3 separate regions of the Homo sapiens genome follow, and regions 1 and 2 are each linked to region 3. Evidence: promoter capture Hi-C in human tissues and cell types (Jung and others, 2019). All regions are on one chromosome and are shown on one strand. Each heading gives the region's core, a stretch centred on a gene start or on the middle of the fragment in contact. The rest is flanking DNA. Distances are from core to core; before and after follow the strand shown.

Region 1 (3,402 bases), core at 677-3,176, 520 kb before region 3:
TGCAGGAAATTTGGAAAGCTAGAGAACTACTACAGAAATAATTAACAACAATTAAAATCCCATTATCCAGGAGTCCACTACTAAAGCGTTGATAGGTTTTTTTCCCTTCTTTTTTCTATATAAATGTTTACGTATGAACCATAATCAATAGAGCCTCGTATCTCCCCTGCAACACACATGTTTTGCTTAGTGTTTTTTCCATGTTCTGCCCCATACCACTAAACTGTCTCAGATAGTGGGCTGGAATGACTTGTAATGAACAGCATGTTACTCTTTTAACTTTATACTCATTTAACTAGTTCTTGTTATGGGGCATAAACTGGAATCCCTGGCCCCTCCTTTATTTTTTATAACTGTAAATAAAGCTTCAGTAAGCAAACAGGCCTTGAGCTGCCCCTGCAAGCATGCAGTACTGGTGTTAAGTCCACTGCTCAACTGGCTTATCCCTGTGGATTGGAAGGTCCATCGAGAAATCAACAGGAATGGAGATATGGAGGAATGGGAGAAACACAAAATGAGCCTCATTTAGGACTCTTTCTTTTACGTTTATGAAAATTTCAAACATACAGAAAAATGGAAAGGAAAGGATATCATCCTTACACCTAAGAAAAAGAACCATCCTTCTTGGGCATCAGCTAATACTGAGTCATATCCCAATTTCTCTGGTTGTCCAAAACATGTCTTTTAGAGCTGGTGTTCACAAATCAGGACCCCAAGAAGGCCCACATCCTGTATTTGGTTGTTTTTAAGGTTCTTAATCTATTGTATCTTCCCTTTTTTTACTCCTGACACTACCTTGTTGAAGAGACCACACAGTTGTCCTCTCACTGTGTCTTAAAGTACAGAAATATCACATACCAAAAAAATTATATAAAAATTAGGCAAAAAATTTAGCTCTACAAGTAAATTATAACCAGACTGTTCTTAATTCACCAACAATTAACACACTGATTTCATTTGGGACTTAAAAATATTCTTTTTTTAAAATTTCAGAGACAAGGTCTTGCTATGTTGCCCAGGCTGGCCTCCTGGGCTCAACTGATCTTCCCACCTCAGCCTCCCATGTAGCTGGGATCACAGATGTGTGGTGCCACCTAACTGGCTTGTACTTTTTTTTTTTTTTTTGAGACGGGAGTCTCACTCTATCGCCTAAGCTGGAGTGCAGTGGCGCCACCTCAGCTTACTGCAACCTCTGCCTCCTGGGTTCAAGCGATTCTCCTGCCTCAGCCTCCCAAGTAGCTGGGATTACAGATGCCCACCACCACGCCTGGCTACTTTTTGTATTTTTAGTAGAGATGGGGTTTCACCATGTTGGCCAAGCTGGTCTTGAACTCCTGACCTAAAGAGACCGGCACACCTCAGCCTCCCAAAGTGCTGAGATTACAGGCATGAGCCACCACGCCCAGCCTGGCATGTATTTTTAATAGTGTCTTTTGCACTACACCTGACCATATGTCAAAACAGGATGGTTGGAAACTATATGGCAAATTTAAAATTTGTTCTGTTATTTGTCTACCTCTGGATGGAGGACAAATGCACAGTTTAATGAGCTCTACATATTGTTTACAACATGCATCTCAAAAGCCATTCTGAGGGTGAATCAACAGTGGAATGGAAAATGTCTTATGTCCCTGTCTCTGTCTTTCCCCATGGAATTCTGTATATTTGTCTGGGACTAGCTTAGTTTTGCAAAGTACTTACAAATACAGGGGCACACTTAATTTCCTCCTCTCCCAGGCTGGTGTTCAATGAGCCATGAGAGTTAGATGTGAACTGCAGGTGGCCCCCAAATCTGTCAGAAGCATCCTTCAGACTTTCCCAACCTCCCTGCCCAGTTCCCACTGGCAGGCAGGCACTGAGGATGGAGGGAGAGTACTTCGGAACCTCCCTTTAAAGCACAGAACAAAGCCATCGTGGTGGAAGCTGCCCCAAAAGTAATCTACGTTTTGTGTGATTTTGTTTTTCTAAGAGCCAAGAAAATTTTGAAAAACAGTAAAAATAAAGGGGCAATCTATATTGCCAGATACTGAAACATACTATAAAGCTAATTTCTTTACTTAAGTCCAGAAACAGACATAGGTGTATATCAAATTAGCATATAGAAGTCCCCCCTTATCCTCAGAGTTCAGGTTCCAACTCCCAGTGGATGCCTGAAACTTCAGATAGTACTGAATCCTATATATACTGTATTATTTCCTATACACACACCTATGATAAAGTTTAATTTATAAATTAGGTATAGTAAGAGATTAACATTAACTAATAATGAAATAGAACCATTACTAACAATACACTGTAATAAAAGCTACATGAATGTGGTCTCTCTCTCTCTCTCTCTAAACACCTTATTGTACTGCACTCACTTATTTTGTGATTGCTGGTAAGTGAAACCCCAGAAAGTGAAACCCCAGATAAGAGAGGACGATTGTCTCCTAAAGGTGGTGCTTTACATTCAAGAGTGGTGAGGCATCTTTGATCCTTATCTTCCCTTTTATTTAAAAAAAAAAAAATTCACATGAACTAAAGTGAATAAAAATGGCTTAAAATGGAGAAAAAAATTTAAAAACTTTTAGGACATGAGGATGAGAAAGCCTTCTTAACATAAACACATAATGGAGTTTAAAAAGTGAAAAACTGCGAGCAAATTGGTTGATCTTTTATGCAAATGCTCTCAGGAAAGAAAGGATACTATCCCACTAAAAAATTGGGCAAAGAAAATGCAGACACCTCACAAAACACAAAGAAACGACAAATACAAAAATGTTCTACACCTTGGTGCTGAGGCAACACAAGGGAGGGAGGGATCGTTTCTCAATGACAATGAGGAGGAGCACAGGCACTGGACAGCCCAGGCAGAAGGATGCAGGCAGCCTCCTCTCTACCTCCCACTCAAAAATGAACTCAAGGTGGAGCAAACACTTCAACGTAAGAGTGACAATCGTACCATTCACAGAAGAAAACCGAGAATAAATCTTCACGACCTTGGATTAGGCAGTTTCTTACTACGTCACCAAAAGTGCAAGTGATAAAAGAAAAATAAACTGATTTCATAAAAAATTAAACTTTTATGCTTCAAAGGATACCATTACAAAATAATGAACTGTGAAAGTGGAAAGTGAAAGAGAAAATATTTGCAAATCATAGGTCTGATAAAGCACTTGCATCTAGAACATATTTTAAAAACTCTTACAACTCAGTAATAAAAAGACTAATAGCCCAATTAAAAAATAAGTGAAAGCTCTGAACAGTTATTTATGCAAAGAAGATACACGAATGGCCAATAAGCACATGAAAAGATGTTGAACCTTATTAGCCATTAGGGAAATGCAAGTTAAGACCACAGTGAGATACCACTTCACACCCACCACATGGCTATAATAAAAAGTCAAATGCTAACCAATA
Region 2 (3,958 bases), core at 746-3,245, 640 kb after region 3:
CCACCTTGCGACAGGGATGGGAACTTTGTGTCCCATTTCCGCCCTTGATTACCTAAGCCAAGAGTCTGCTGGGCACCTGCTGCCTGCCTGCCAGGTCCCCAGTAAGATCCTTCCCAACATGCGGGCAGCTGAATAAGGCAGCCACTGCCCCTGCCCTCAGGGAGCTCACAGTCTCCTGAGAGAGACCTCCAGGAACCCACAGATATATAAAACGAATAAATGCAATATTAGAATGTGATGCAGGCTAGGAAGGGAAGAGAGGTGATTTTCACAGGGTGCAGTGACATACTTGAAATATATCAGGGGTTGTCCATCTCCCTGGCCACCTCTGACTTCCCCTGCTTGAAGGGGTGAATTCACCCCACGGTGGCACGTAGTAGGTGCTCAGTAAATGTTGAATGAGTGAATACATGGATGACAGCACTGTCCAGAGCCAATTTCTTGGGTCTTGTAGGCTAAACAGATGAGGAGTGGCAAGGCAGGACTTCTGGGAGCAAGGTTGGTCCCCTGGGAGTCCTGGGAGGGCTGAAAGGGGTTAAGTGTGAGTTAAAATGAGAGTGATGGACAAATGTCACTCTCCCAAGGGAGGCCCCCTTACTCCCTGTTTTATTTATTTATTTACTTATTTATTTTGAGACCGAGTCTTGCTTTGTTGCCCAGGCTGGAGTGCAGTGGCCAGGTAACAGCTCACTGCAGCTTTGAACTTCTGGGCTCAAGGGATCCTCCTGCCTCAGCCTCTTGAGTAGCTGGGACCACAGGCACGTGCCAACACGCCTGGCTAATTTTTTTTTTTTTTTTTTGCGACGGAGCTTTGTTCTTCTTGCCCAGGCTGGAGTGCAGTGGCGCAGTCTCGGCTCACTGCAACCTCCGCCTCCTTGATTCAAGCGATTCTCCTGCCTCAGCCTCCCGAGTAGCTGAGATTACAGGTATACGCCACCATGCCCGGCTAATTTTGTATTTTAGTAGAGACGGGGTTTCCTCATATTGGCCATGCTGTTCTCGAACTCCTGACCTCAGCTGATCTGCCTGCCTTGGCCTCTCAGTGTGCTGGGATTACAGGCGTGAGCCACCGCGCCCTGCCTAAACTAAAAAAAAATTTTTTTGTAGAGATAGGTTCTTGCTATGTTACCCAGGGTGGTCTCCAACTCCTGGGTTCAAGCGGTCCTCCCGCTTCCGCCTCCTAAAGTGTTTGGATTACAGGCGTGAGACATGGCGCCCGGCCTCTTACCTGTTTTAAATTGTCCTTTCTCTCCGCTGGCTCCTTGAGCCCCTTTCCTGCTTATTTTTCTCTCGTTAGAGTTTTTCACTACCTCACACATCATATATTTGCCTTATTTATTGAGTGTCTGTCTCCCCACCGTAGTATAAACTCCACGAGGGCAGGGATTCGTGCGTGTGGCTCACCGGCGGCTCTCCAGCGCCTGGACAGGGCTGACCCCCAGCAGGCGCTCTGTGAAGGTGTGCAGAGTGGGCGAAGGTGCATGCGCGGGCCGTGGGGCGGGGACAGGTGGAGGAGCCAGTCAGACCCAAGTGCAGCGGGACGAGGGCGAGGTTAATCTGAGCAAGAAAAGCGTAAATTCTGCTTATCTACAAATGTAAACAGTACTGTCGGCCAGACGCAGGGTCCGGGGCGGGTCGGCCCGGACTCAGGGTCTGCTTGGAGGCAGAGCTAGATTAGGGCGGGGTCGTCCTGTGGCCTACCATTCCCCGAGGCTGAGGGCCTTGGAGGGCGGGGCCAGTGAAGGGGGAGGGGACTTCCTGAGGTGTGACCAATCTAGAGAAAGGACTGGGCTGAGGGCGTGGTCAAACAAGCGACATCTAAAAATAAGGGGCGGGGCTAGAACCAGGGGGAGTTCGCCTGGGGCGGGGCCAGAGTGGGGCGGGACCAGTTAGGGGGCAGGGCCAACCTGGGCGGGGCCATGGCCGGGGACGTGGGCGGGACCAGGTCAGGGGCGGGGCCAGGCCAGGATCTCCGCTGTCCCGGGTCCTGGAGCTCTCTCGGCCCGGCAGGTTTCGCTCCCGCCCCTCCGGCCTTCCACAGCTGTCCTGGCCGCAGGGTGTTCAAGGCGGGACACACCAGGCTAGAGATCCGCGATCGGGCCCCGCCTCAGGTACTGCGCTCCAGGCCAGGCGGGCGCGGGTAAGCGCTCAGCTCCCGAGCCAGGCGGGCTTCCAGGGCACTTCCCCTAGGCTGCATTCCCAAAGGCTCCCGAGGGCGAGGGTGAGCAAAGCTGCGGGGACCTGTGTGTGCATGCGTGTGCGATTGCCTCTACGTGTGTGTACGTGTGTGTGCATGTGCGCACGGGTGTGTGTGCGTGTGTGCACGTCTGTGCACACCAGGGGAATTGCGTGCGTGGAGCTGGGCAGGTGCGTGTTTCAGGGTGTGTGTGCAAAGTTGGAGGCGTGTGCAAAAGCAGTCCCGTGTGGGAGGGAAACCTGCGTGTGTACATGTGTGTGATAGAGACAGTGCCTGTGAAATGTGGTGAAGGCTGTGTGTGTATGTCAGGGTGTCTGGGAGGAAAATGGGAGGGCAGGTGCAAGGAGACTCGGGGGTGGGCTGTAGGCCAGCAAGTCTGTGGCAAGCTGCGGGGTGCATGCGTGAATAGAACCGTGGGAGTGTAAGAATTGCAAATGTGTGTGTGTCTGTGTGGGTGGCCGTAAGGCTTCTGGGGGCCCTCAGTGTGAAGGGGTGGGGGTAGAGGAAAGTTTGGGGGTGCTGACTGCTCTTGGAAGGCTGAGCGTGGTCTGGGGCCATGGCTAATGACAGGGAAGCTGTTGGGGCTTGGCCTGGAGTAATTTGGGGGGAATATCAGCCTTCTCAATTTGAAGGCTGGGGAGCTGTGTGGGTGGGGCCAGGGGCTGCCCCTTACACTTGGTGGGTGGTGTCCCTGCTTCCCGAGGTGGGAGCTGCAACCTCACCAGTCACTCCTCGCCCCAGGCTCTGTGCACACCCCTGCCTGGTGACCTCCATTGGTGCTCCAGCGTGAACATGGTGCAAAGATACCAGTCTCCTGTCCGAGTCTACAAGTACCCGTTTGAGCTGGTCATGGCGGTGAGTGACTCCTGATTCTTGGGCCCCCATGTGACAGTTGGAGGGGCTTGAGATCAGCTATGGCGGTAGGAAGACGGAGCTCCTTAGACTCCCAGATCAGAAGGAATTAGTGAGTTACTCAGCTGACCTGGTGGGTTTAACTTCTATCCAGTGACCTCTCTGTCCAACCATCCTATCCTCGGCCCAGTGACCAAAACACAAAGTCTTTCTTCCTTCTCCTTGTTGAAGCTGACCTGCTCCCTTACTTTAGACTCTCCTGATAGAAAACAAAGGTATCAGGGGCCAAGCCACTGCTGTCATTTCATATAATGGCATATCACAGTGATAAATGGAATGGTGGTGATAATGACAACAGCTGTTTATTGAATGTTTACAGCACTGTCTTAACAGATGATGTTTCTTCCAATTCCCGATAGCTGTTATTTTCCCATGTAACCTCCATGAAACTGAGGCTTTGACAGGTGAAGGGATGACACTAAGTTCTGTATCTACGCAGAGGTGGAGTCGGGGCTGAGATCCCCACAAAGGAGACTCTAGAACCTCACATTTGACCACAGAGCCCTCCTTCTGCTCACAGACCCCCTTCCCTCCCCTTTAAGGAAGCTGACACTGGGACGAGAGAGAGAATGAGTGGGTAGGTTTGCTTTGTGATGTACTCTGTGTTGTGCAGCAAGTCAGTTGGAGGCCTAGAATTGGCTGCCAGATCCTTGGCCCCCAGGATCACTGGTCTTTTCACCCTGGGGGCAGAAGCTGGACATAGGTGGATGTGGAATTCCTTCTTGGCTGCATCCCTCTGCCTCTGAGCACTTCACTTCCCTGCTCAGTAACATGGGGACAATGCTACAAGGTTGCGGGGAGGAGTAAATGAGATAGTTCTTGGTGCTCCTTGCTGTGTGCCGGGCACAC
Region 3 (3,607 bases), core at 730-3,229:
GAAGCGCTAGGTCCCGAAACTGGCCTTCCCCCGGGGCCCATCTCCCGGCTAATGTTTAACCCGGCCACACTCCACATTATCCACACTCAGGAGACCGGGGTGAGGTGAGGGTGGAGGCTGGGGGAGGTCACCTCCAAATCGCCAACTTCCGAGCCTTTGCTCCAGGCAAACGGCCTTCCTACATCCCTTCCAGGTATCAACCTACAGCTCCTGCGCACCTACTATGTGCCCATTTCCACAACAGGTCATGAGCACCTAATATGTGTTCATTAGACCAAAACATGAGCATCCATTACGAGTCCACACCTACTATGTGTGCATTCACCCACAACGTCCTGAGCACCTACTATGTGTGCATTCTCTTAAAATGCAATGAGCATCGATTGTGTGTCCACATAACCCATGAGCACCTGCTATGTGTCCATCTGGGCACCAGCCCATGAGCACCTACTATGTGTGCATTCTCTTAAAATGCAATGAGCATCGATTGTGTGTCCACATAACCCATGAGCACCTGCTATGTGTCCATCTGGGCACCAGCCCAGGAGCACCTACTATGTGCCAAGCCTTGTGCCTGCCATGGATGCCTTGTGATCAAGAGCCACGTGCTTCGGGCTCTGGCGGGGACCGCAGCATCAAATGCACGAATGAAGACGGACTTAAAACCAGCGTCAGATGCCTCACCTCTAGGGGATGCTGATTCTGGGATGCCTTTTTCGTCTCCTAGGCTCCTCAAGGCCAACTGCGCTGGGAAGAGGGGGTGTCCAACAGCAGGAGGGCTGTTTTTTTGAACTACAATTTGCCAGCATACAGCAGAGCAGCAAGAAGATAACAGGGCGGGGGGCACGGGATTAGCCCAAACAAAACACACTCAAGAACGCGAGTCTGTGGTTCAACACGAGGCAGAAAACAGCTGGGCCGGGTGCGGGGCTTCTCCCTCGCGTGTATCCGCTCACTGCACTCGCTGCCCTGGCCGCGGGCGCCGCGCAGGGTGCTGATGTCCAGGAGGGATCTAGACCTCCCGCGGCGCTCGGGCTAGTGGACGCAGGTGGTCCCAAATGCTGGGACCAAGCTAGGAACCAAGCGGAAGCTCGGATTGCTCGGCATCGGGCCTCGTCGTTATTCTACCGTGAGGGAAACTGAGACCGAGGGCACGGCAGGGAGTCGCCCGCCGTCTCACCAGCGTGAGGGGTTGCGCCGGGCCCCGAAAACTGGTTTGCGCCGCCCGGCATCGGGATCCGGGACCTCTGCCCGCCGGGCGCTGCCTGCGCGTTCCTGGAACTGGGCTGGGCGGAGAAATCAGGGCCCGCAGAGAGGCATTCCTGCCGCCTTCCCCGCCGCCCGGGGCCGCAGGGGGGCCTGGCCAAGGTGACCCCGCGGGAGGAGGCGAGGGGTCCCCGCCCGCTCCGCCGCCGCGACCTCCTCCATCTTCCCGGTCTGCGGGGCTTTTCCTCTGGGCCCGCGCGCCCGGCCCCCTCCTCGGGCTTCCCCGAGGGCGGGACGTCTCGGGCTCCCCCGCCCCCCCAGGCCACCTCCCGGCCGTGTCCTAGCGCTGCCCTCGGGCCGGGGGCGGGGCCGCGGGGGGGGGGTGGCGTGAGGATGGGGCCGAGGAGGACGCGCGCGGCTCGGCGCCCCACTTCCCTCCCTCACCCCTCCCTCCCGGTGCCCGCTCCCCGCGGCCGCGCCGCCCTCCCTTCCCCCTCCCTCGGCCCAGCGCCGGCTCCCGCCGCCCCCTCCCCCGACGCGCACGCCCCGCCTGGCAGCTGGCGCCCCGGGCCTGGGGCCGCAGCGGTGAGAGGGGTTTTGCTGGGAGGGAGGGAGCGAGCGAGCGAGGGGAGGGGTGGAGGCCGCCCCCCGCGCCCCTCCTCCTCGCCCTCCTCCGCGGCCGGCGGGCCCTCCTCCCGCCGCCTCCCTCCTCCCTCCTCCCGCCCGCCCGCCCTCCCTCTAAGACATCCCCGCACGGCCCGGCCGCCGCGGCCACCTTCCCTGCCCGAGCTGCAGATGTGGCGGAGCGGCCGGGCGCCGGGCGGCCGTGCCAGGGGAGCCCGCGCCCCGTGAGGCCTCGCGCCCCGGCCCCCGCCCGTCCCGGCCCCTCCCCCGCTCGGCTCCCCGCGCCCCCCGACCGCCGGAGCCCGCAGCCCGGATCCCGACCGCCCCCGCCGCTGAGGTAGGAAGCCCCCCGGGCGTCGCGCCGTGGGGACCGGGCCGGGGCGGGGGGGGGGGGGCCCGCCTGTCGCGCCGGGGCTGCGGGGCCCGAGGGTCTCCTCCCCCGCTCGCGTCCGCGCCCCGGGCCATTGTGAGCCCTCGCCGAGGCCCCCGCGTTCGCTCGCTCGCTGGCTCGCGCGCTCCCTCCCTCGCCGGCTCCCCGGCCGGGTCCCTCGAGCTCTCGGTCTTTCTTCTCCCTCCTTCCTTCCCTCCGTCTGGAGGCCGGGCCGAGCAGCGCCCGGGCCCGGGGCGGGCGCAAACTTCAGCTGGGAAGTTGGGCGGCCGCGGTGGGGGGCGTGCGGCGAGGTGAGAGGGGGGTACCCGGAGCCTGGGCATGAAGTTGTCCGGGGCAGCCGCCCCTCCTCTCGGCCGCGCCGGGGCTGCTGCTAGGAAGGGCTTTGGAAGGTGCCTCCTCCCTTGGCCGGGAGAGTCTCCCTCCTGCTGCCCCTCGCAAGCCCGGGTCCTTCCTTGGACCTCGGGAAGGGGCGTCCCTGGGGGGTCAGGACTGGGAGTTTGGGACAAGTCAGGCACTTGTTACTCCCCTGCGGTCCGGGTGGACGCAGGCGACCGGCCTGGCAGGGAGGAGATGGCAAGGGGTCCATACTCGCCGGAGGGCGGGTCTGGAGCGGGTGGAGGAGGGGGCGAGGCAGGTGCATCCCGAGGGAGGAGAAGCACGCACAGCTTCCCCGCTGGCCCCCTGGGATGGGGCTGGAATCCAGGCTGGCACCTGGAGGCCTTGGCATGCTGCCCTGCCCAGCAGGGTACTCGGGCCACAGCAGGGCAGCGTGCAGCCTGTCTGCCTGTCCAGGAGGGCCCGCCCAGCCTGGCCAGAGGGTGGCCGGGAAGCAATGGTTTCAAGGAGTTGCCCAGCCCTGCCCTGGGGCCTGGGAAGCTGGAAGGGATGCTGGGAGGGGCCCTGGGCCCCCAGCCATCACAGCCCAGGATCTTGGCTCTGGAGGGAACGCTTGACACTGAGGGGGCAGCCAGGCCGGCTGGGGACCTGGCCAAGGCCTGGGCTTGGTCTGGGCCATGGAAAGGGCCTGGGCCATGGTTCTTGGAGGCTGGCACCCTGGGTAGTAGGCCGCCATCCTGCGTGTCCTGGCATCCTGGAGGGAAGGTGGGGCCAGCCTGCGGCTGGGGAGGAAGCCCAGAGACACTGCGCTTCGGAGGGCCTTCCAGCCCCCGGGCTCAGGGGAGGGGAAACTGGCCCCTTGGGTCACCCCTCCCCAAGCCCCATTCTGGTGCCACAGTGCCACAGCTGTCCAGGCCCAGCCCACACACCCATCCCGGGTGACCTCGGACCTCCCCCTCTGCTTCTCCTTCTCCCCAGAGCCCAGGCTGGGCCTCCTAGCTGGCCTGGCCTGCACAGGGGGAGGGGCTGCACCTGGGAGGCCCCTCCCAG

Evidence for each region. Contacts are between HindIII fragments. The study calls those that stand out against the background at their distance.
Region 1: a contact is called between a fragment that was not itself captured here and the fragment with the promoter of GLIS2 in region 3, in 1 of the 25 tissues and cell types used here (dorsolateral prefrontal cortex).
Region 2: a contact is called between the fragment with the promoter of SEC14L5 here and the fragment with the promoter of GLIS2 in region 3, in 1 of the 25 tissues and cell types used here (lymphoblastoid cells).

The regions. Positions count from the first base shown.
Region 1 is chr16:3,795,279-3,798,680 of GRCh38, forward strand. The region is part of intron 3 of CREBBP (CREB binding lysine acetyltransferase); the gene reads right to left. Among named protein-coding and RNA genes, the nearest start is that of TRAP1, 79 kb to the left of the region's middle. The HindIII fragment of the contact is 6,810 bases long and covers 1-3,402 here.
Region 2 is chr16:4,956,335-4,960,292 of GRCh38, forward strand. It overlaps SEC14L5 (SEC14 like lipid binding 5), which reads left to right and starts at 1,996. Exons shown (of 16, transcript NM_014692.2): 1 at 1,996-2,111; 2 at 2,939-3,052. The coding sequence starts at 2,990. RefSeq lists silencers at 1,881-2,090, 1,889-2,184 and an enhancer at 1,988-2,523. The HindIII fragment of the contact is 18,853 bases long and covers 1-3,958 here.
Region 3 is chr16:4,314,088-4,317,694 of GRCh38, forward strand. GLIS2 (GLIS family zinc finger 2) reads left to right here and starts at 1,980. Exons shown (of 7, transcript NM_032575.3): 1 at 1,980-2,167. RefSeq lists enhancers at 95-607, 608-1,120, 3,242-3,607 and a silencer at 521-815. The HindIII fragment of the contact is 26,266 bases long and covers 1-3,607 here.